Linked DNA regions of Homo sapiens: all the other regions are linked to region 3. Evidence: promoter capture Hi-C in 16 types of primary human blood cells and fetal thymus (Javierre and others, 2016). All regions are on one chromosome and are shown on one strand. The core of a region is centred on a gene start or on the middle of the fragment in contact, and the rest is flanking DNA. Distances in the headings are between cores, read along the strand shown. Region 1 overlaps ARHGEF7 (Rho guanine nucleotide exchange factor 7). Region 2 overlaps ARHGEF7 (Rho guanine nucleotide exchange factor 7). Region 3 holds the start of NAXD (NAD(P)HX dehydratase). Region 4 overlaps ARHGEF7 (Rho guanine nucleotide exchange factor 7). Region 5 overlaps ARHGEF7 (Rho guanine nucleotide exchange factor 7).

The links. The method cuts DNA at HindIII sites, captures the fragments that hold promoters and counts their contacts. A CHiCAGO score of 5 or more calls a contact.
Region 1: a fragment that was not itself captured here is called in contact with the fragment with the promoter of NAXD in region 3 in 1 of 17 cell types (naive B cells); the score reaches 5.3 in naive B cells.
Region 2: a contact is called between a fragment that was not itself captured here and the fragment with the promoter of NAXD in region 3, in 1 of 17 cell types (naive B cells). The highest score is 5.0, in naive B cells.
Region 4: a fragment that was not itself captured here is called in contact with the fragment with the promoter of NAXD in region 3 in 1 of 17 cell types (total CD8 T cells); the score reaches 6.7 in total CD8 T cells.
Region 5: a contact is called between a fragment that was not itself captured here and the fragment with the promoter of NAXD in region 3, in 3 of 17 cell types (naive B cells, total B cells and total CD4 T cells). The highest score is 5.3, in naive B cells.

The regions. Positions count from the first base shown.
Region 1 is chr13:111,281,778-111,286,593 of GRCh38, reverse strand. It overlaps ARHGEF7 (Rho guanine nucleotide exchange factor 7), which reads right to left. Exons shown (of 22, transcript NM_001354046.2): 16 at 3,231-3,455; 17 at 354-447. Among named protein-coding and RNA genes, the nearest start is that of TEX29, 36 kb to the left of the region's middle. The HindIII fragment of the contact is 4,043 bases long and covers 1,314-4,816 here.
Region 2 is chr13:111,234,720-111,239,571 of GRCh38, reverse strand. The region is part of intron 6 of ARHGEF7 (Rho guanine nucleotide exchange factor 7); the gene reads right to left. Among named protein-coding and RNA genes, the nearest start is that of TEX29, 83 kb to the left of the region's middle. The HindIII fragment of the contact is 7,694 bases long and covers 1-4,852 here.
Region 3 is chr13:110,613,670-110,618,583 of GRCh38, reverse strand. NAXD (NAD(P)HX dehydratase) reads right to left here and starts at 3,039. Exons shown (of 10, transcript NM_001242882.2): 1 at 2,937-3,039. The coding sequence starts at 2,982. NAXD-AS1 (NAXD antisense RNA 1) reads left to right here and starts at 2,231. Exons shown (of 1, transcript NR_182301.1): 1 at 2,231-4,914. RefSeq lists enhancers at 2,010-2,059, 2,080-2,129, 3,031-3,958 and silencers at 2,410-2,569, 2,580-2,829. The HindIII fragment of the contact is 4,814 bases long and covers 1-4,703 here.
Region 4 is chr13:111,181,075-111,185,828 of GRCh38, reverse strand. All of the region lies in intron 2 of ARHGEF7 (Rho guanine nucleotide exchange factor 7), which reads right to left. It also overlaps the pseudogene SALL4P4. Among named protein-coding and RNA genes, the nearest start is that of ARHGEF7-AS1, 35 kb to the right of the region's middle. RefSeq lists enhancers at 600-859, 960-1,089, 1,550-1,689. The HindIII fragment of the contact is 1,012 bases long and covers 2,440-3,451 here.
Region 5 is chr13:111,207,443-111,212,336 of GRCh38, reverse strand. ARHGEF7 (Rho guanine nucleotide exchange factor 7) reads right to left here. Exons shown (of 22, transcript NM_001354046.2): 4 at 2,335-2,465. Among named protein-coding and RNA genes, the nearest start is that of ARHGEF7-AS1, 61 kb to the right of the region's middle. RefSeq lists an enhancer at 122-649. The HindIII fragment of the contact is 3,410 bases long and covers 406-3,815 here.

The DNA of each region.
Region 1 (4,816 bases), core at 2,086-4,585, 670 kb before region 3:
CTTTGGGAGATGCTGGCACTTCAGGAAGTGTGGGTGGAATATCTTATAGGCGAGAGGGAGAACCAGAAGAGCAGGAGAGCCCTCCAGGTCCGGCCCCAGCTCCTGGATGAGGAAGGGGCTATAAGGCAGTGGTGCCGGGACTGGCACGGAGGCTTCACCACTGACACAAAGGCGCTTCTCCTGCTTGCTTGGGTAAATGTTACGTGGCTTATTCCTATCACTGCCTCAAGGGGCAGACCTTACTTTTGTTTGGAGTCTTCAGAAAGCCACCAAGCCTCCCTCTATCCCAGGAAAGCCATGGCCTACGTGACCAGGAGGCCACGTCCTCCACCACACGGACCGCAGGTACTCACTTTTCCGGGACGCGAACTCCTCATCTGAAGGCTTCCGTTCAGGTTTGCGCTTGGGCAGCAGCTTTTTCATGGTCTTAGGGCTCTTACTAAGATCCTAGGGAAAGACAAAAGAAAATGCTAACATACTCTAAAGCCAATCATTTTCACTGGCATATCAGAAAGGCTGCTGTAAAGGTATAAAACCCCAAATTATTATAGCCACTGATAAGAGCTTCTCGCCTTTTCCTACTTTGATTTTTCTTTACCAGCTTCTGAACGTTAATTTTTAAAAATCAATAGGGCATTTTCAGTATTAGTCATTGGCTAATTTTTTTTTTTTAATTCTAATAAAACCCCTCGTGTCATTTGGGTCCTGTTAGTCCTGTGATGAGAGGTGTCACCAGGAGGCAGGCTGGCGCTGGTGTGCACAGACATCCTGCACGCTCCTGAGGGAGGAGGAGAGGAGGGGGCAGCTGCTCCCTAGGACAGACCTATCCCCTGGCACAGCTAACTGGAAAGAGAGGAGGAAACTAAGGTTGTCATTAAATGACAGATAAGTAAAAAATAATTGCTTTAAGAAAATATTTGAAGTTTCAGGGAGAAGAAAAGGGAGCGAGTGCTCAGCTACCTGACTCTGAGTGCCAGGAGCACAGCCAAGCTCGGCCAGGGCTGCTGTGCAGGGGCCACATGCACACCAGCTCAGAGTGTTCACAACGGAATGGCCCACCCCTTACCTCTTCAAACAGCTTTTCAAACAAGCACAGAAGACGACGGCAAAAAACAAAGTGAGCAAAGCAAGTCCCAACAGAGCAGGTAAGGTGTCAACTGTCAAGCACGTGTTAAATACCGATATCAAAAAAAGGCTGGTTTCTGCATCACCCCAACGACATAAACCATCACGAATGCTAAACGCGAGACCAAGACTCAGAAGATGAGATGTGCTATGGAATGAACCAGGCTGGAAACAGAGGAAACAAAGCTTGGTTTTTAAAATTATCTTTAAAAGTCTTTTCTTGGGAGCTAAACAATGGGTACACATGGACATGACCATGGAAATGACAGACCCTGGGGACTCCAAAAGGCGGAAGGTGATGGGGGTGAGTTTTGAAAAGCTACCCATTGGGTACAATGTTTCCTATTTGGGTAATAGGTACCCCAGAAGCCCAAACCCCAGCATCACCCAATACAGCCACGTAACAAACTCTGAATCTAAAATAGCCTTCAAAAAGTTAAACAAAAGTATTTCTATAAAAAATTGGAAAGCTCTTAGAAATGCAGCAGCAATCTGTTCCAGAAGACACATTTATACACATGTGCTCATGGCTTCCCTAATTCGAAGCAAATTGAGATGGAGAGCCTTGAAGAGCCAACGCCCGCCCCTCACGTGCTCCGAGGGCACCTGCAGGCGCAGAGGGTCACAGAGCACACAGCACACCTGAGCCAGAGCCAGGCAGAGCGGGCTGCAGAGCGGCCTCCACGAGCCTCCATGTCCTCTTCTCACACCCTGCAAGATCACTCTCCACGCTACTGCTGGGCGGTGCTCAGCAACACTGGACGGCAGCTGCTCGGTGTGAGCCCTTCTCTCCCAGTGTGGAGTTGGCAAAGCAAATGCAGCCAGACTTATCAAAAAAAATTGTTTATCTTCACTTCAATACCCCTTCCGTTGCCCTTTCTACTTCTTTGCCCAACAGTTTTATCCCAATTTTCTTCCCTAGTAATTCAGTCTCCACCAGTTCTTGTAGTAGCTCACTTTTTCTTTAGACTGTGCACACTAAAGTATACAATAAGGAACAGCAACATTCTTCAAGTAACTTCCCATGATAGAAAATGGAAATTCTGACTTGCACACATGATTACCTGAAAGATATCATAAAAACAAAGACTCAGAACAAAAAATGAAAAGCACAGATCCTAATTTCTCATACAGTACTTTCCTGTGGGCCTTAAAACCCCCAGGGCTGCCGGCAAGAATGTAGAAAAAGTCTGCTCCAGTTCCCTTGGCAAATGTGGCCTTGACCAGACACAGAGGCACAATGCCAGGCAAGAGCGTGTCACCATCCTCACGCTCACTCACACCCCACCAACGGGCACTGCTGCTCACACTGACGCGCACGATACCCACACTCTCACCGCCACTCCTCATACCTCACCACCATGCACGCTCAACTGCTTATGAAAACAACTCTCATCTCAATTATCAGCTTCCTCAGGTGAAAGTACTTCTCAGAACAGATTTCTAAAGACACTTCCTTTCCTCATCCAAGCTGGTTTAGGTAAAAGTGTAAGGAAGTGTTAACACTTCTATTTATTCATTGGAATCGTACTTTATTTGCGCCTAGCAAATATAAAAATGCCGGATGAGAACAGAGACAAGCAAAGACCGCATCATGATTTCTTATGCATCAAAGGGGGAAACCGCCTAAGTGATTGTTTTTCATTTGTATTAGTAAATGTTCTCTTCATCTCAAATGGCTTCTGGATGACAAAATGCAGGGCTCCTGGACAGGATCCCCAACCTAGAGGAGGGGTCGTTAGACGCAGCAGACAGCGTGCAGATGCTGAGCGATGGCCTCACACACAGGGAGTGAAAGCCACCTGGGCTCAGCGCCTTTCCAGCTCCTGGCCCCTGGCGGCACACTCCTCCGGCAAGTGCAGTAAAGGCCCCCCTGTGCATGGCAGAAAGGAGGGGGACCCTGCACATCGCCTTCCCACACAGGTTACCACGGGCCTCTCAGCAGCAGAGCAGATAACCAGAGAACCAAGGCAGACCCCCCCTTCTCAGTTCTCTAGGAGTTAGGGTGCATTTTGCTGTACACAGAAGGCCCAGCACGTGGGCACACCCAGGGCCCGAGGCATGCTCACCGTCATCTGGCTGTTTGAGTGGTCAAGGGACCTCACCTCCTTGTAGCAGAGAGCAGCTGAGGGCCGGAGGGGAGGCGCGGGCCGCAGGCAGCTCAGGCTCCAGGGCTTGGGTGTTTTCGGAGGCTCCAGGGGTCCCCAGTTGATGGTGGTGTGCGGGGTGCCGTGGTGGGAGGGGTGGGGCAGCGTGTGGTAGGCGGGCGTCAGCGGCGCGGGCTTGCTGTCTGCGTGCTTGCTGGACGGAGTGACCGGGTGGGAGGGGAGCTGCCAAGGGCACAGAGCGGGAAGGGCAGAGAACATGAGACTCGCGTGCTCACCGCGAAAGGGCACTTATCACGCACTTCCTTCTGCTCTTTAAACACTCCATGTGAAATAAACCTCAGGATTTATCATTTCATTCGTATCTCTGGCTCTCAGCAGTCAGTTTTTGGGGCCAAACACTAGCTCGCGCCACCTGGGCCGAGCGTGGGGCTCCTCACGGCGTCTGCCCCAGACAGGAGGGGCAGCTCTAGCTGGGGCCCCAGCACTCAAAAGACATCCACTAGCCACATTTATTAGCTACGGAGTAACATTTATAGAAAAAAGGTACTTCATCTAGTAAAAAGATGAGAATTTCACAAAAGCACACAGGGCATGTGGCTGTAAGAAGGAAGGTGATTCCCCCCCAGCCACGTATTATTCTTCACCTGGTGATAAAGTACTGGGCGAAACTAAGGCCTGATCGCCTAGTTTTGTTTTTTAAAAAAGTTTTCCTGGCACACAGGCAGGCCTGTGCCTGTCTAAAACTGCTGTTGTGTTCCAAGGGCAGAGTACAGCTGCAAGAGGCCTGAACCTGTAAAGCAGAGAACGTTTACCATCTGGATCTTTACTGAACACTGCCAAACCCTGGTATTAAAACCAATTATGTTCTTAGAAAACTCAACTTTAATCAAAACAAAGTTAATCAAAAATTAACTTCTTAGAGCGGTGTGCCATTAATGCATTTTATATTCCTGGAAAACCCAAAATATTCCATCACAATGACAGTTAAATGAGAAAAGTTAAATAAGTCATTCTCAAAATCAGCCAATAATGACCTCAAATTAGCCAACAATAGTAAGGTGCATTTAATGGGAGAACAAGCTGTGTGGCGCTGTGAACTGGAAACGGAGTGGGGCCGGCATTCTGAGGAAGTGCGCGACCTTCAAAACACAGGCTGAGAGGGACGGCAGCTAATGCCACAATTTCAAGAATAGAAGCCATCAACTTCCTGCAACGATCACATTCTAGTCCCTGCATGGGGGAGGGAATTGTGTGAGATGCAGGTCATGCTATGAAGCCACTGTAAGGTCATCTTTTCATAGGAAATAATGTATAGATGGATAAAATTATGTAAGACATCCCTTCTAGCAACAACGTCAAAGCAGTGTCTGGTTTTGTTTCTCCTTTCTTGAAAAAGTCAAAGGAAGTATGCTTTATGCTAAAATTAGAAAATGATTTCAGCTGGTCAGAGTTGGATCACAGAATACATCATCCCACACAAGAAACTCTGTAGGAGAATGCAGAACATTTTAAACATGAGGCACAGTGCCTTCCCCGCTGAAGGGATGCCTTCCCAGCCACCAGTGAAAGAAACACTAAGACGG
Region 2 (4,852 bases), core at 547-3,046, 620 kb before region 3:
GAAAAGCCAAGGGCAAAGCAGAAGATGAAGAGACGAAGCAACGCCAGGGTTTAGGGTCACTGCTGATGGATGGAGACCGAAGACACCCTGTCACCAGGAGGCTCAGGTTTTCCTCCTTGGCCTGGCATCTGAAGGCCATCGCAAACTAAAGGAGCAGGGAGGAAAAGACAGGTGTGCGGCTTCTCTGGAGCACAGGAAAGGCCCGTGGATGTGTGTGATGGCATCTAAGGATACATAACCGTTTTATACACTTACAGATTAGAAAGAGTGATGCTACCTATTACATTATATTCACAGTATTATAATAATGCTCTAAATAACAGGGAAAGTGATATGGTTTGGCTCTATGGCCCACCCAAATCTCACCCTGAATTGTAATAATCCCCATGTGTCAAGGGCGGGACAGGGTGGAGGTAACTGAATCATGGCACGGGGGTGTGGGGGAGCAGGGGCACGCAGCGCGTTCCCCTATGCTGTTCTCATGGTGAGTTCTCACAAGATCTGATGGTTTTATAAGCATCTGGCATTTCCCCTGTTGGCACTCATTCTCTCTCCCACTGCTTCGTGAAGAGGTGCCTTCCGCCATGACTGTAAGTTTCCTGAAGCCTCCCCAGCCATGCGGAACTCTGAGTCAATTAAACCTCTTTTCTTTATAAATTGCCCAGTCTCGGGTATTTCTTCACAGCAGCGTGAGAACGGACTAATACAGAAAGCCTAAAAAATCAAACCATAGTGTATATCGCTGAGCAGGGAAGGCCATAAGGACTGTGTCTTCCCAGTCAGCGACTTAAGAAACCTCATTCTCTAATGACGGAGCGGGGTGCTCCTCATCCCCCCGAGAGGCAACTCCAGACCATCATTCTCTCCAGCCTAGGCATCCAACCCCTTCCTTTGATCCCCATCAGGAAAGATGCCAGTCACCATGCCATGGGGGCAACGAGTGTGCTTTCACTGTCAAATCCACCAAGCTCGGGCACATCAGGTCACAAACCTGTCTCTTTTAATTATATGATCAGGCCACCTTGGCTACAGCTTTCACAGGTCACCCTCAAAATCTACGGGGATTCCAGTTTACAAACAGAATGGTATGGTGGCCTCAGTGATGCCTTCTGTTCCCAATGCTCTTAAATACTCTTCTTAATACACACAAAAACCTCTAAGGTCCAGCACTTTGCTGGAGGCCTTAAGGCCAGTTGCCAGTCCACTTAATACTACCAGGTCAGGGCCAGCATTACCAATCTCATTTTACAAATGAGATAACTGGGCTCAGGAAGCTAGGGCCAAAGCTCCTGGCCACCCAGGCTAAGCAGCATGGACGATTCAACAAAAAGGCTGTACACCTTCCACTGCATCAAGCCGCCCGGATCTTAATTATCTGAACTACCTACACAACAAGGGCACCCTAAGCACAGCTAACAGACTGATTTCAAACAGTACGTACATGAGAAAATAGAGGCAAGAGTAGTGGCTGGCTGTGTCACAAAAACTAATTGAAATTAAAAGATCTGCATTTAAGAGATCTTGATTTCCTCTCCCTTCCCCGTCACTCTCCAAGCCCAAGGCCTGTGTGCCTGCCATGTTCCACGCTGGCTTCCTCCCTAGCCTCAGAGGCCCGTTTCTATCTCCAACACATTCTGGACTGTGGTGCCAAAGACTTCCCCCATAATCACTATCCCTTACATTAGTGGGAAGCTAAAATTCCTCCACTGGAAAGAAACCATTCTCTAGCACAATGTCTTCTATCTTCTATGTCAACTTTGTAATACCATGAGATCATATCACCTGTGTAATTTCATATTCTGTTATTGCACTTAACATGAAAATATATGTTTTTTGTATTTTTAAAGCCTCATGTACACTTTAGTAACTACAAATGGACAAACCACTGATCGCTTAATCATTCTGGTACTGTTCATCTCATACTGTTTATTTTGGGTTGCTTGCAATTTATTACTATAACAAATAATCCTCTGAAAATGCCTTTACACAAGCATCTTTGAATATATTTCAGGTTAATTCTCTGGAATGGATTTCAAGAAATTTAGAAATTAAAGAGAAAGCCCTAAATTAAAGAACTTGATCACTTCCAGAATTCTATATATAACTGCCATATTACTTTTGAGAAACTCTGTATGGATTTACATTTCCACCATTAGAACTAAAGATTCTCTCTTTAAATCTCTGCTCACTGATTACAGAAAATATGCCTATTAAAATTTTTATGGTGAGTTTAACTATTTTTTTTCAAAGCCTTAGTGTTTACCATTTTTTAAATTGTTCACAACCTTTCCCATTTGTCTATTAATCTTCATGTATTTGTCTTAATGAGCTCTTCAGACATTAAGGATAACCTTGTATTATACCTGATGCAAATAACATTCCAATTAACTTGTGATCTGGCTTATACTGTTTGAGGCAAGGAATATATTAAACTCTCATTAGGTAGCCTAAAAGATTTATCTTTTCCTTTGTCATTTCATCCACTGCCTTTAACTTTTAAAAAGTCATGCTCCTCCCCAGCCCTCTCTTTGAATGCATTCCCCAACCCCATACAGATCACTGGCAAGAGTGAAACCTCACCGTCAGAGGTGTTTTTTGGTTTTTTAGGGACACAATCTTGTTCTGTAGCTCAGGCTGGAAGTGCAGTGGTGCAATCATAGCTTACTGCAGCCTCAAACTCCAGGGCTCAAGCAATCCTCCCACCTCAGCCTCCCGAGTAGCTAAGACTACAGGCATTTGCCACCCAGCCCAGGTAATTTTGGTTTTTTCTAGAGACATGGTCTTGTTATGCTGCCCAGGCTGGTGTCAAACTCCTAGCCTCAAGCAATCCTCCCTACTAGGCCTCCCAAAGTGTTGGGATTACAGGTGTGAGCCGTAATACCTGAACTGTTAAAGGTGTTTAAGCACAATCTTTGGTGAATCTTTGGCTGAATACTAAATTATGCTACCCAAAAGTGAATCCTAGAAAGACAGAATTAAAAATAAAAACAAGAATAAAAAAATAAAAATAGACATCAGTGACTATGGGAAGATAAACTACAGAAGTGCTCTAGGTGAGTCACTGAGCAAGACACAGCAACAGCAACAGTATAACCCAGGGGAGGTGGATTTCAAGCATCCAGAGCTGCTAAAATAGGTCTAAGATATCCAGTTTTCAATTTAAAAAATCATAGGACATGCAAGAAAGTGTGACCACACACACACGCACACAAGAAAAAAAGAAGCAGTCAATGGAAACTGTCTCTAGGGGGCACAGATAGTGGACTTAGGAGATAAAGGTTTCAAAGCAGCTGTTATAAATATGTCCAAAGAACTAAAGGAAACTATGTTTAAAAAATTAAAGGACAGTATGAAGACAATGGCTCAAATATTGTCTATATTTGACTAATTGCACCACAGGAGTCCCAGAAGGAGAGGAGAGAGAAATAGTTACTGAATGGTTCATAATAACAGACATAAATTACTACGAGTTTTACTTTCCAGTGTCTTTTTGGTGTTCATCTTAACTATTATACAATAGCAGGAAAACACATATCCATCCCATTCATACCTGTCTCATTGTCTCTTAATTTCAAAATGTTGGTACTTTCGCATGGAATACTCTTCTCTCAACTCCATTATACTGATCCCAAGTTAAGACAAGTCATTCATGTAAATTTCCTTAACACCATTGGTCCACACCAGTCTTACCCTTTAGTAAGTTTTCAACTTTCAGTGAGGTTAAAAACACCCAGACCTTATAGTTTTCTGTGAAAACGAAACTACAAAAGGGGGTGTAGAAATGCCTAACACATTATCTATCATGTTTTGTTCTGTGTTGTATTCTGTTCTCTATTTTTATGTACAATTTACAAATATAAAATTAAGGAAAGCTGAAATTGATTCCTGGCTTAGTAACCAGTGTATAACCTTGGACAAGGCATTTAGCTTCTGTTTTCTCTGCTGTAAAATGAGAGTACTACATCAAAAGACAATTCTCTATGAATTCTATGAGTTTATTTCTATAACAACTGTAATTTTACCATGTGCTATTTATAAATGCAGCTTTATATAGAAAACAATTTAGATGTGATTTTGAGGTCAAGGTGTTTTCCATCATTCTGTATGAAAGAGTTGGCTGATTTGAAGAAAAGAGCACTTATAATACCCAGGCTATTCTCTCTGTAAAAGGACAGTTAGAGAAGGAAAACGAAAAAGGTATCGACTATGCTTCAATCTGAGAAGTATTACAGAATATATAATGCAAAGAAAAACCCACCAGGATTTCTAAAAAAGCATGGTTGCCTGGTTTTATAAAGTGCCTAATGAAAGCAAGATTAATGGAGAAACTAAAGAATGCCCTTGGCACCAATTTAAACACTGCTGACCACTTTTTCTAACAGAATTATCTGGACCTGAACCATAACAGAAGGTAACACACCCTTTGGAATCTCACTGTGGATTGTGGCTGTGTTATTCACCACATGAAGCCTTCCCCAAAAAAGCAGTGTCTTATACAAGAATGCAAGAGGAAAGGGCAGCTCCAGGAGTTAAAACTCAAGTTTTCCTACAACCCATAAAACCCATCTACTGTCTCTGTAGCTACGTACACAAAACTACACATAAGCTACATTACACACTAAAAAGCGAATGGGTTAGTAGAGCCAAATCCTGGGAGTAAATGCCCAACAGGCCAAGGGATGAAGGCGATGCAGAGCACTAGGAGAGATGACAGAAAGCAGGTGTCTCGGGTAATGTGGGCCACACGACGCGCTAAAAGGAGTCTGATCTTCTCAAAGTCCACAAAGTTGAGATGGAAGGCAGAGTCCAAGCAGCCAAATGAAGATGAATGAAAAAAAGGGAAGAAAGAGGG
Region 3 (4,914 bases), core at 1,790-4,289:
TACCACAAGCCAAAAATATCAATTCTGAGTGTGTAAAACCCACTGCATTCACACGGCAATCTTTATCATAGCTAGGAAGAAAACACGGGGGGAATCCTGTTCTGAGCTATTCCTTTATCTTATACAGAAGGTAGTGTTTTGAAGCCCAAAATGTGCAAACCACCTTCACAGCAACTTGATCAACCCACCAGCGGGAGTCGCCTCCTCCTGCTCCTGTTCCGTTGTGAAATCTTAAGACTTTGTGAGATTCCCAGTTCCCTGGCCATGATGCTACCGTAAGGGCTGGGTCTAAGAACCCTGGAGAACAAGAAGCGCCATCCAGAAACTGAATATTTCAAGATTTACACATGAGAACAACGGCTCTCAAATGGAAGCTAGCTTAAAATTATGTTAAACTCATAATATAATTAATAGTAACTTTTTTGCTACATAATTTTAAAAATTCAAAGTGATACCAAAAGTAACTATTATTACATGTGGGGTTCTGAAACCTTTCGAGCACACAGACAACCTACATGGTAGGGGCTGACCTGGACATAAGAAGGAAGTTCTTATGTCTGGACTGGCAGAGAATCAGCACCCTACTACTGCCTGCCCACGAGGAATGTGGCACCATCCGCAAGCTGCAGCACTGACTGCTTCCATGTGGGACTCAATCACCTCGAACACAGCCTGGCACAGAACAAGACACTTGATACATGTTCGATGAAGTCAAGACATCGTGATTCACTCTCCTCACTAGCACTTTATCTTTCTTTTACAGATAAGGAAACTGGGGCCCAGAGAGAAACCTGTGCAGATGCTGTGGTTAGTAATGGACAAGCCAGGCCACAAGACACTATTTTACCAAAGTGCTGCCATGTTTTTGTTTTTATTTTTGTGGGCACACAGTAGGTGTAAAATGCTGCCATTTTAAGGCAAAATAAGAAGTATAGCATTTTCACTTGAATAGAATTGTATTAACACAAAGTAAAATCCAGGCTGCTCACCAGCATTCACCTAAGATAAACAGCTTCTGTTAGCAAAAGGGCCAAAGCAGGTCAACTAAACTTCCCAGCACTTGGCAGTGAAGCAAGTTCCAGCTGGCTTACTGACGTCACCATTTGAACTTAACATTTCAAATGTTAACACAGAAACATTTACATATAAAGATCAAAGTTCTGAAGGATAAAAAGGCCTTGACAATAGGCGACTTAAGATGTATCCCATTCGGTAACTCTTCAGACAATTCTGAGTCTGGAAGAACAGGTTAAATTTGTTTGGCTTTTGTTTTAAGGAAGCGTGTCTGGGGAAGACTATCACTGCTGCTTTGTGCTAAAAGTGCTTTTAGTACTGGAAAATTCTACTTAAAAAAACAAAAATACTTTAAGTTAATGTGAGTTATAACTAATTTAGAGCATTTAACCACAATCCCTAAGTTAACTGAAATATTTCCTAAAGCCTCAGTAATATACAACTCTACCTGGCTTTTCGTAAAAGTTTAGGCAGTCTGATAATAAATCCTCAACCAAGCGCAATGAAAAATCTTGCTACTAATCACGGTGTGTGAATTTAAGGTAAAGAGCTACAAATAAATCTCTAAATAAAGTGTTAAGAAGCCTCCCTGCTGGTGTGAGTGAGGTGCAGTGTAGAGTACCCTCTCAGCGCCACCCAGTGCATTCTCAGTGTGTGCTGATGAAAACAAAAAGCCAAACTCTCTGACGATGCCCAACATACACACAAGGTAAAATCTATCTAATGACTACAGCAACAAATGGTGCGTTTAACCATTTCGGCCACTCACTGGCTGGAGAATCCTGGCTAAGTCACTTTCTCTGAGCTTCTATTTATCTTCTATACCAAGGTGGATAACAGCAATCTCTCCTTATGAGAAATGAGATATACACGAACTACTTCCTGTATAAAATATGTTAGATACACCAATACCAACAAGGCAAACAGAAAGACAAAAAAACCCTATGAAGAGATGGGGCTCCAAGCACTTGCTCAGCTCCTGTTTAAATTCTTTCTACCTTATCCGTTCTATTTGAAAAGGCATCTCAGCGTGCAAGGACCAGCCAAGGCCAGGGCAGGGCCCTCGGGGACATCTGGCCAGCACTTCAGGTTCTGGGGATGACTCAGGTGAGCCTCCCTCCCCAAGGGACCTCCTACACGCACACACACACCCCGAACCGGGGGCGGGCGAAGGAGGCCTGGCTGGTGGAGTCCTTTTCTGCGGCCCAGGCGTCGCAATATCCAGTCCCTCTCGTCCAAGGACGTGCAGGGTCTGTACTTGCCCAGTCGCACTGGGACTTCAAATTGGGGATGCAGACACGGCCCTGCTCCTGGTGTGCGCGAAGCCCGCTCAGCCGGCCAGCTCGCCTGCACGCCCGCCGCGTCCCTGGGCCCCAGGAGGGCCCCCGTATCCAGCTCCGACCAAACAGCAAGCCCGCAGTTGGCGAGCATCTTTCCCAGACCGGGAGCGGGGACAGAGCAGAGCAGACGGATCCGACCAGCGCACCACGGCGCCCCAGGGCCCTCCTACCGTCCTCGGCCCTCGGCCCCCCGTTCCCCGGCCACCGCGCGGGCTCCGCCGCTCCTGGGACGCGCACTGGCTCCGGCCCGGCGCCACCCTCTGCCCCTCTGTCACCCCGCACGGAGGCTCCCATCACCCAAGCCGCGCCCAGCCGTCGCCGCGCCGTTCCAGGAGGCCTCCGTCCTCTCCCTACTCCGCCCCGCAGGCCACACGGCGCCCCGGCCCCGCGCGCGGGCTGCCCCTCGGCGGCGCTTCCCCCCCGCGAGCCAGCAGAGGCGGTCAGCGGTCGGGTACCTGCGTCCAGTGGCGGCCCGTACAGCGCGAGTGCGGCCGAGAGCAATGCGACAACGACCGCGCCGGCGACGGCAGTTCCGGCCCCCGCGCGTGTGACCATCCCCGGGCCAAATGGAATCGACCTTACCTCGTCTGCAAGCCCGGATTGCCCCACAGCGAGGACCCAGGGCCATCGGGCAGCATTCCGGATTCCCAGCTGCCCCCGCGCCGTCGCCGGAAACACAGCCATTGGAAGCGTTTTCCGGTTTCCCGACCGCCTCCGCGCGGCTGTCGGCAGTGGGATCCCAACTCGCTCAATCACACCCGGTTCTAGATGATTGACAAGCGCGACGCCCAACCCGGCCTGGTCCCAGCTCTGGCCTAAGAGGTTCGGCTGGAAGGCAGGTTGAAGAGTTAACAACGATCTGGTTCAGGGTCTGGTTTGTGTTTATCGGCCCATTTTTAGGCTTGCGGCGTTATAGAAAATGATTTTGCTGGCAGGTGGAGTGCCGAGGCCCACTATGTGCCCCCAGTATAGCAGTCAGGTGCCTTTCTGCTCCAGGCGCAACCTCTGCCCTGAACCCCAAACCAGCTCGCTGCGAGGCCCCTTCGCTTTCCACCGTCTCAGGTCAGGGCAGCTCCATCACTCCAACGCTGAGGCCCAAACCCCTGGAAGGCATTCTGACCTCTCCTGCCCTCCCACCCACGCTCCTCCTGTGGCTGATGGCCTCTTACCTCCACTGCCGCCCTATTTGAAGCCACCGTCATGGTGCTAAAAGAAACTTGTGGGGCCAGGTGCGGTGGCTCGCGCGTGTGATCCCAATGCTTTGGGAGGCCAAGATGGAAGGATCGTTTGAGCCCAGGAGTTTGAGACCAGCCTGGACAACATAAGGAGACCCCCTTCTCTACCAAAATTTTTTTGGAAAATTAGCAGGGGATGGTGTGGCACACCTGTAGTCCAGCTACTTGAGAGGCTGAGGTGAAAGGATGGCTCAACATGTCAGAGGCCTTTTAACCAGAGCGATTCCATCTTGAATAGGGACTGGGTAAAATGAGGGTGAGACCTACTGGGCTGCATTCCCAGGGGGTTAGACATTCTTGGCCACAGGATGAGGTGGTGGGCACAAGATACAGGTCACAAAGACCGCACTGATAAGATGACACAGTAAAGAAACTGGCCCAAAGCCTACCAAAACCAAGATGGCCACAAAAGTGACCTCTGTGTCCTCATTGCTCATTATTTGCTGATTATAACGTATTAGCATGCTAAAGGACACTCCTACCAGCGCCATGAGAGTTTACAAATGCTATGGCAACATCAGGAAATTACTCTATATGGTCTAAAAAGGGGAGGAACCCTCAGTTCCAGCAATTGCCAACCTCTTTCCCAGAAAACTCATGAATAATCCCCTCCTTATTTAGCCTATAATCAAGAGATAACTATAACTATGTGTGGAGTTAGTTCCTGCCGGTGGGTTCATGGTCTCACTGACTTCAAGAATGAAGCTGCGGACCTTCACAGTGTTACAGCTCTTAAAGGTGGCATAGACCCAAAGAGTGAGCAGCAGCAAGATTTATTATGAAGAGGCCGGGCGTGGTGGCTCATGCCTGTAAGCCCAGCACTTTGGGAGGCCGAGGCGGGTGGATCACAAGGTCAGGAGATCGAGACCATCTTGGCTAACACGGTGAAACCCTGTCTCTACTAAAAATACAAAAAATTAGCCGGACATGGTGGCGGGCGCCTGTAATCCCAGCTACCCAGGAGGCTGAGGCAGGAGAATGGCGTGAACCTGGGAGGCAGAGCTTCCAGTGAGCCGAGATCGGGCCACTGCACTCCAGCCTGGGCCACAGAGCGAGACTCCACCTCAAAAAAAAAAAAAAAAAGATTCATTATGAAGAGCAAAAGAACAAAGCTTCCACAGCATGGAAGGGGACCCAAGTGGATTGCTGCTGCTGGCTGGCGGGGGTGGGGGGGTGGGGCAGCTTTTATTCCCTTATTTCTCCCCTCCCATGTTCTGTTTCTGCCCTATCGGAATGCCCTTTTTTCAATCTTTCCTGCAATTGGCTACTTTTAGGATCCTGCTGATTGGTGCGTTTTACAGAGCACTGATTGGTGCATTTTACAA
Region 4 (4,754 bases), core at 1,696-4,195, 570 kb before region 3:
CATGCAGGCAGATCAGGCAGCACCCAGGGGAGGAGGGGTGGTCTCAGACACAACTCACCACGTACACACACACAGCAGCCCATACAGCCTACACAGGCCCCCAAACTTCTGTCTTCGACTGCTAGGAGCACATGCCTGCAAAGAACAGCCTGGCTGTCGCCAGAAAGTGAGCACATACCACAAAGAAGGATCTGGGCAGATGCAACACACTGGCTTGGGCTAACAGTAAGTGAAGCAGTAACATTTACAGCTATAAAGGCAATGCGCCCATTCCATTAACTTCAAAATGCAAGCAGTTACAAGACTCCAGTTTTGAGAAGTTTCTCAAGATGGCCCACTGCAAACACCTATCTAACTCCCATCCCTCCCAAGGTGCCACCGAAATGAGAGAAAGAAAAAGCTTCAAAAAATTAACAGAGAAAGAACCCGCTGTAGTGCTAAAAAGGGAAAGGCTATGAGCAGTCTAAACAGGGTTTGAGGAGATCCCTGGGGACAGGACGCAGATGGACTCTGAATGACCTAACAGTTCAGAACAGCACTTGTAAGGGAGCCCCAGGAGCACCAAAGACGGTTTTCTAACACAGGAAGGGACACGTGACCCACCTCAGGACTTCAGCACGACAGCCCCTTCTTCCTGATGGGAAGCTCAGCACCCAGACCCCTCTCTAATTAAAAAGAAGCTGCTGCCTGCACTGGATTCTAACCGGAGGTGAAGTGACCCTCTCTAATTAAAGAGAAGCCTGCGGCCTGCACTGGATTCTAACCGGAACCTGATGCACCACTAGGCCCACACAACAGTCTCTGAGGAAAAAAAAAAATGACAATTCTACCCAGAAGCGAAATCCCCTGGGAGCTCCACCACCAGCCTGGACTATCCCCCATCTGAAGTGTGACACAGGAAACAGGTGCAGAGAAAGTGTCTCCCTCAGCTCTGCTCGTGTAGCTGCTTCTAGAGCCCTCCATCCGGTTCTCCCCACCTGCTCCCAGACACACAACCCGCACAGTGAAGCCCACGGGGCCGGTAACCCACACACAGGACTGCACAGTCCCCTCCGCTCTGATGCCAGTCAACTGGGCTTTTATTCACAAACAGGAAGAACCCATCAAGGCCACACCTGATAGGAAATAACAGCATAGCACAAAGAGAACTGACCTATGACTCCCAAAAAGATGGAGAAGACACATCTCCCCCTCCCTCCAGCTGAATGCAGCTAAAAGCCCTGGATGCTGCCTATAAAACAAACGTCAGCCTCAGAATGTGAGAGAGGAGGCAGACCGGCTAAGGGTTTCAGGGCTGGGAACCATGCCAGCGGGTTCTCTGGGTTTTCTTTTTGCCTCAAATGCTCCAAACTGAGTGCTAAACAAGCCAGCAACCCAGAAACACCAACAGGTACAGAAGAAAAGCCTCAAGAAAGACCTATCCTCTCTAGCCAAAGGACCAGGACAGGGCAGCCTAGTAGGTCAAAAAACTTCAACAATAACCATCTGTATTAGTCCGTTCTCACGCTGCTATGAAGAAATACCCAAGGCTGGGTAATTTATAAAGAAAAGAGGTTTAACTGGCTCACAGTTACACATAGCTGGGGAGGCCTCAGGGAACTTACAATCACGGCAAAAGGCACCTCTTCACAGGACAACGAGAGAGAATGAGTGCCAGGCAAAGCAGGGGAAGCCCCTTATAAAACCATCAGATCTCGTGAGAACTAATTCACGATCATGAGAACGGCGGGGAAACCAACCCGTGATTCAATTATCTCCACCTGGTCCCGCCCTTGACAGGTGGGGATTATTATAATTCAAGGTGAGATTTGGGTGGGGACAGAGTCACACCATAACACCATCCTACCCCAACCACACAGAGAGGGTTAAAAAATGCAGTCCCACCCGCACCCGGCCATAAGCAAGTGACCCCCGTCAACCCTTCCCCACAAGTCCTGGTGGAGACTTACAGAGCTCCTCATCTTTTACACAGGAGAGAAGTCTAAGATGACAAGTCAAGAAATACTAGAAATACAGTTAAAAGGTGACTACTAAAAAATTGAAAATTATAAAACCGGTACAATTAGCAAAAATTGGGATTTAGAGGGGCTGTGGGGAAGGTGAGAGACAGAGCAAGTATATTAAATTCCCTCCCTCATAAAGAGGCCATAATGGGGAAGAGAAGAAATGGATTAGAAGAGGGTTTATAGGTAAAAATCCACAGGACTTTATAATAATTGATAAAATGACAATGTACATGTAGTTTATGCACTATTTGATGCTATGCAAATGTAACTTTCAGCAGACAACATGAAAAGTTCAAAGGAGGTTTGATTAGAAAAGACGAAGCCACAGATGATGCCGGAGGTGTGAGACCTGAGGGTAGACCCCATCAAAAAACATCCAAAGAATCAAAACATTTGCCAGACAGCTTCTGAGAGAAATAGAAAAAAATAAGCTTATAACCACATTTTCACTGAGAACATTTTTGTTTAAAAAAAAAAAAGGTGCCAATACTCCCATCCAAATGCTATAGAATGCTATAGCTGTCTGCCTTCTGCACTTAATTTCTAACTCCCAGTACATGTCCACTGCATATGTATTTCAAAATAAGCGCCATTTAACAAAACTTGCTAGCACGAGTACAATGACATAGCGTGCGTGCAATGTGACTGCTAGTAATCTGCCTTCCTCTAACTCTTGACTATTTACACCTTGGTTCTACCTTGTAGGGCCACCCAGATGCTCAACTCACAATGGGGTACATCCTGTTAAACCCACTGTAAACTGAAAAACATCGTGAAGTTGAAAATACATTTGATACACCTAACCTACACAACATCACAGCTCAGCCTAGCTACCTTAAGTTTGCTCAGAACACTCATATTAGCTTACAGTTGGGCAAAATCATCTCACACAAGAGCATATTTTATAACACAGCGTTGAATAGCTCATGTGACGTACTGAATACTGAAAAACTGGCTGTATGGGTACTCGAAGCACTGTTTCTACTGAATGTGCATTGCTTTTGCACCATGGCAAAGTCAAAAAAACATGTAAGTTGAACCACTGGAGATGACGAACCATATCTGTATGAGCCCACAGATGCTAGGCCCAATTTCTCTGAACCCTAAAACTGCTTTCTAAACATCTAGTCCAAGTCTCCCGATGGCGGGGGCAGAGCTGAGAGCGGCCACGCTGAGATGGAAGGTGGGAGCAGTCTCCAAGTTTATCAGAGCCCAGCCAACTCCATCAAAGCTGAAGTTCCTGGTATTCGTCAGACCCCAGGCCACGTTCCCCCCACCCCTGGGCATGACACCATTGTTAAGAGGCCCAGCCATGCCCACAGCCAAGCAACAGAGATGCACAAGGTGTGGGAAGACCTTCTCATCCTCTCCGGCTCCTCAGATTTAAAGGCGGATGGAGTCACACTGGAGAAAAGCCTTTTGTATGCAACACATGCAGACAAGCTTTTACCACCAAAGGCAGCTTGAAGGTCCACTGTATGACACACGGGGCAGTAACTCAGCACCCCGTGGAAGGAAGCTGGCCAGAGAACACGGGGGCTCCATTAGGTACAGAGGAAAAGAGTCTCAGAAATGCTTCCCAAGGAAGTCCTGAACCCTCCGGCGAACAGGGACCTGTCGTATGGAGGCGGCACACCAGCACGCTCGACACCGTGAAGATCAACGAGACTGCTGCGATCCAGAACGGCGGTGTTCTCACCCTCCTGGTCTCCAATTCTTGTGAATTAAGGCCACTCTTGTGAATAAAACCCTCCCAGCTTCCTCTGAACAAACATCAGGTTCAAGTTATTCCATCCCCTAGCAGTCAAGATGCACAATGCTGCAGGCTTTTCACATTTCCCCTGACTCCACATTTAGGACAGCTCACCAAATCCACAACGCTTTGTTGGTTCAGTTCAACACATCAACCTGAAAAGCTCACAGGCCAACCAAGCAGCAGCATTACCTGCATGATGTCTGGCCCCTCTGCCCTTTCAAAGGTCGCTTCCTACCTGAAGCTCTTTCCTGTTTCCACCTGGAATGTTTCTTCCCCTCTCTGAGTCCCAACCCCATGACAGCTGCGCCTCTCTTGAAGCATTTACAGCTGCTGCCCCCTATTCAGGTTACATGGGTTCCTTCCACTTCAGTGCACTGTTCCATGATGCCTCAGGGCACAGATATCTTGTTCACCTCTATACTCCCTCAGGGCAAGGCACCCAGCTCAAGACACTTCCTCAGAACCGAGTGCAAACTGATGAACAGCACCTGGAGAAATACTCCAAGTTCTCCACCACAATGAAATCCAGACTATGCTCCCCAGTTGTTGTTGTTGTTTAAAAAAAACATGATCTATCCAAGAAATGCCCCAGTCAAAGGATCTCATGACTTTGTCCCATCTCTTTCTGGGCATGCTCCAAGTCCTACAAAATGACCTCCACCTCTTCCAGGGGCCAGTTCTAAACTAAGATTCCAATCAACTGCCATAAACAAGACAAAAGTAGGTTTCCAGGTCTTCTCTCAGCAAAGGGATGTAAAATTTGAAGTTGGGACAACTTGAAACCCTTAATACACAAATTTACCAATTCCAAAGTTCCCTTGTCCTGATCCTTCTAAGACCCCCATGTGATCAATGTTCAAACTCTTGACCATGATCCACACTAAAAAATGTATTTCACAATGTAACCAATACACACAGAATCCATAAAGTTGTTGAAGTTTGAATTTTGAATAAATTCACCACTAAGAGATAAACAATTAGCAAATACAACA
Region 5 (4,894 bases), core at 861-3,360, 590 kb before region 3:
CAGAGCCGAACTGGATAAAGAGCTCGATTTAGTTCAGCCTCTGGAAGTGGGTAAGAACTCTCCCCTGACTGTTCTTTCCTTGGAATGGTGGAGGGGCACCGCAGACAAGTGAAAACCTCCACTGCAGTGCAAAGCAGTAAACGCAACATCAAACTGTTCAAGCCTGCCTATATCCCAAGACAGGAAATCTGTCCCGAGGCAGGGGGCTGACGGTTTCACAGATGAAAAACAAGCTTATAAAAACAACCAGCAACTGCAGTGGTGGCTGGAGGACACATTCTTACACTGAAAGGGAGGCAGGTAATGAAGGAGCAACACAAGAGCAAAGGGGCATAAACAACACCAGCCCCTCAGAACACAGATCCTCGCCTGGGGGATGGAAGCGTCTTACGCAATCTCAAAGCTTAGGTTTAATATGATCTCAAAACTGACATTCAAGAAACTGCAAGTTGCCTTTTAGCTTAACTTTTTATCATGGAAATGTTCAAATGCACACAAAAGGAGAGAGTGACAGGTGGCCCTCCATGCATCCACTGCCCAGCTTCAAAGGAATGTTAGGCCATTCTTGTTTCAAGATAAGTTCTTAATTTTTAATCCAAGAAAACTACTACAAAGTGCTATCGATAAACTACACAGAAAAACCTAAGGGTAAAGAAACATTCATTCTTACCTAGCATGGCTGAGAGAGGTCTTGCACATTCCATCAAAGAGAAAGCAGCTCTCTAGCACCCAATCAAAACATCAGCCCAAAAAGACTTCACACAGGTCAGAGAGCGCAAGTCTATTTCTAGTATAACGAAATTTCAGCAGCTAATGAAAAATTAATCCAATACTTACTATGATCTCAGTAACATTACCAACAAACATTACATTTAACTTTATTTTACTTAAAATTATACATTTGTAATCTAGTCCTCTACTCAAAAAGAAAAAAAAATCAGATGAAAATTGCCACCAGTGAACGGGTGAGACAGCAAATCACAGCTTTACCCAAGGCGAGCTGATTTCTCTTATGTTTTCCTCATGTGTTTTACAGAGCTCATTTCAAGTGTGTTTAAAGTGGTTTGTTTAGTCCTCTTTAACTTGGAATCCTAATGCTCCCAATGGTAGTCCACAGAATTCTTCCAGAACAGGCTCCTGCAAAGCAGGAAACAGCAACAGCCAGGCCTCTCGGGGCTGCTGTGAGGACTGCAGCACTCAGGCCATGCAGCCCACCGCCCACCACGCCTGAAGCAGTCAGACCCCTCGGGGATCCTCTAAGAGGAGACACAGCAATGATAGCGAGCTTGAGTTCAAAAAGTTCAGAAACATAAAAATCACATTCCTCGCATATCTTTCCATTTTTCACACATGCTTCATAAACCACTGTAATTTATTTCCCTCTACAAATCACGACTCTATCTAAATTAACTTTTATTTCTTGAGGACCACCATCAGCTTACTTAGCAATACTCCCCCATGTTAAGGCAGAGGAAAATCCATGGACCCTTCATGACTCTAGAATAGGGTTCTCTCTAGACTCACGTTACAAGATCACTATGTTTCTAACAAAGTATGTACTGTCGCGAGAAAGCAGTGGTATCCCCAGCAGCCAATCGAAGTCACTGCCCGCCAGCTGCAGCTCAGAGAAGGGTGCAGGACTGCAGAGTGGCAGCCCTGGCTCTGCCCCAACACTCTACAGGCAGCCCTGTTTAACCCTGCTTGAGTTTCTCATTTTCAACTTCACTATTACATTCCATGGGCTTTACTCACAGCCTGTATCCTGAGCATTTTTAAACGAGTATTTTTTCACTCTCCACGACAACTGTTCGATCATCTAAGTTTCTTTCTCTGCGTCCCAATCAGTCATTCTAAGGGATTCCCTCCCCTGTAAACTAAATCCTGACTTAGTAAAGCACACTAAGCCATGCTTTCATGAAGAGAAGAAAGGCCAGATTCTTTAGTTTTAACCATCTCTTCTTTACGGAGCTGAGTACTTTTCCATACATATTTCTTATTCTCAATATTTCTGTACATGTGCATAGCTGATAATGCCATGCAAATGACAAGGGGTGTGTTTTTTTAAAGCAGCATCACTCCAGATATCGAGTCATGAGTCTTGCAATACAACCTAAAAACAAATGAGTTTCTCAAAAGCAATCATTAAGCATAATATCTGGATCATCTGGTAATGAGCAAATGCCAAACCAGATTACAGGCACAACGGAGGCGAAGTCCAGCTACCTTTGCCCTGTTTAACACCATTAATGGAGGCATACGTATCTTCTCAGATATATCCATACACACTCATATCCTTCCCAAACATATTTAAGTAACAAAATCTCTCAAACTTACCAAACTCCGATACTGGCCCTGGAACAGTTTTGAAGTCCGAGTGTGCAAAGACTGTGATCCAAGGGAGTCAAAAGACTTTATGCGGTGAGACGAGGGCCGGGCACACACGGAGTCACTCCCCAGCCCGATGTCTGCAAAGAGCATGCACACAGAAAAAGAGAGCTGAGAGCGCCTGATACCACGCACCCACACTACACACTAGACTTTAAAACTAGGGCAGCACAGAGGGACACACCAAAAGACCACAACAAAGCAGCCCATTTATGCAGAAAACAAAGAACAAATTATTTGCTACATAAATGACTTGCATTCATTCCCCAACTACCTTTCCAGAAATTATCTGGAGATAACTATTAATCAGTTCTTCTCTAATATAATTTTCAAAAGTTTGTGAAATGTATTATAACTTTTAAAGATTTTCCCTTCACCTGGAAAAAAAAGCCTCTCAAATTTGATTATGGAGCGGAGAACAACCAAGTACTGATTCTCCAAAGCATCACCACCACATGCCCACTTTTCCAGGACGATGTGTCATGCAATAAGCAACAGAAGGAAAAGACTCTTATTTAAAAGAGAAAATCCAGTGTATTTTTCAGCCAGAGAGAACCTTGTGAGGATTATTTCCCCAACACTAAGGCAGCACAGGCTCTACTCACCTCATGAAGTTGCTGACAGAATCAAAGTAAACAGACAGTAAGAGGCTTAGTTCTGTTCTCTGGATCTCCCTTCATAAGACACTCCACACAGGCCATCCAACAAATAAATAATAGCAATTTATTCTTAAAAGTGACTCAATTAAAAAAAAGAGAGAATGAGGCTGTGAAAAACTTTGCTGGGAAAATCGCTGTTCTGAGAGGCACGTGCCCGGCCATGTCCTAAACTCCAGGGAGGCTTCCATGAAAGCAACCCTAAGTCTCCAGGTCCCAGCTTCCTCCCAGGTGTTTGGATTGGCTTGCACGTATCTTATAAAATTCTGAATTAAACGGTCAACATCGAAAAGTCTGAAGGTATCACCAAAAACCCAGATTCCCCACTGCTCTTGACACATTTAGGATGTGGCCACACCAGGTCTATATCCCATCAGGTAAAGCTGGCTCAGAGCTGGGCAGGGGCTGTCCTGAGAGGACCCAGCACCCATGCCCTTCCATCCAGCTCCTCCCTTCACGCCACCTGCCTGACCCCACAGATGGGGGCTTGCTACTCCAACGATCTTAAATTCTTCTCAGGTCACCCCCTCACCCTACACTTCCCAGGACCTGCTGAGGGCAGGTTACGAGTAATCTCTATAGAGCACATTCTGCTTGAGAACACAGGGGTCTCAGGCAACCCGCAGCACAAAACCAGCTAAAAGGGCATTTCCAGCAAATTCTACAGGGCTCCCGGCCATGGTCTGCAGTGCTCTGCTGGCCACAGCCTTCCAGGAAATTCTCATACAAGGAGGGCCATCCTGAAGACATTCTGTACTTCCCCATCACCAAGCTTTCTTCTATCCAATTAAAAGGCCAGTTACAGTCAACTAAATGCCTTGAGAACACATATGATTTTAAGAGACAGAAGCAGAAAGACAATGACAATTTTCCCAAGAATGTCCACAGTAACTGTGGCTGCTGCAGTTGTCTTACTGTTTGCCAATCAAGGAAAGCTGAAATCTAGAAAGAAACGAGGCCAGGCGCAGTGGCTCATGCCTGTAATCCTAACACTTAGGGAGGCAGAGGCTGGTGGATCACCTGAGGCTGGGAGTTCCAGACCAGCCTGACCAACATGGAGAAACCCCGCCTCTACTAAAAATACAAAATTAGCCGGGTGTGGTGCCACGTGTCTGTAATCCCAGCTACTCGGGAGGCCGAGGCAGGAGAATCGCTTGAATCCAGGAGGCGGAGGTTGCGGTGAGCCAAGATCATGCCATTGCACTCCAGCCTGGGCAACAAGAACGAAACTCTGTCTCAAAAAGAAAACGTACGGGTATTGCCTTCCCACTGACTTCAAAAACAAAAACAAAGGGCAAACAGAAAAGCAAAGCATTCCTTCCATCTAGGAGGGGTCATTCCTATAGTTTAAAAGCTTAAAAGTACCAAGTTTATGTGGTAACTTCCAAATTTGTCTTTGTAAAGAACAAAGCTATCTATTTTACATCCAACACATAGCCAATGATACCAAGAACATATACAAAATACATTTCCATAAGGTAGAGGTAAAAACTAATAGCCTGAGAGCTACTGGATTCTGACTTCTCTTATTTACTTGTAAATCCTACCGTCTCAAACCTAGATGGTTGACAATCCCAAGACTGAGTGTACAAATTAAAGCCATGTTCTAAAGCCACTTCGTCCTAATTAGCACCCCCACTTACAGCAAAAGCAGAGAAAACATCTACAATGAAATTCAAAGTTACTATCTTCTGCTCCTGTGAGCAACCTCTAAAAAAGTATTCAATGGGAGCAGAGTCAAATTAAGGATTACTTGTAGATTTTACATATCTGTGCTATTGCCCCATCTGCCACAGAGATCTACGTTAATTATAAGGCACATCATTTAGGACAGGCATGGTGGCATAAGCCTG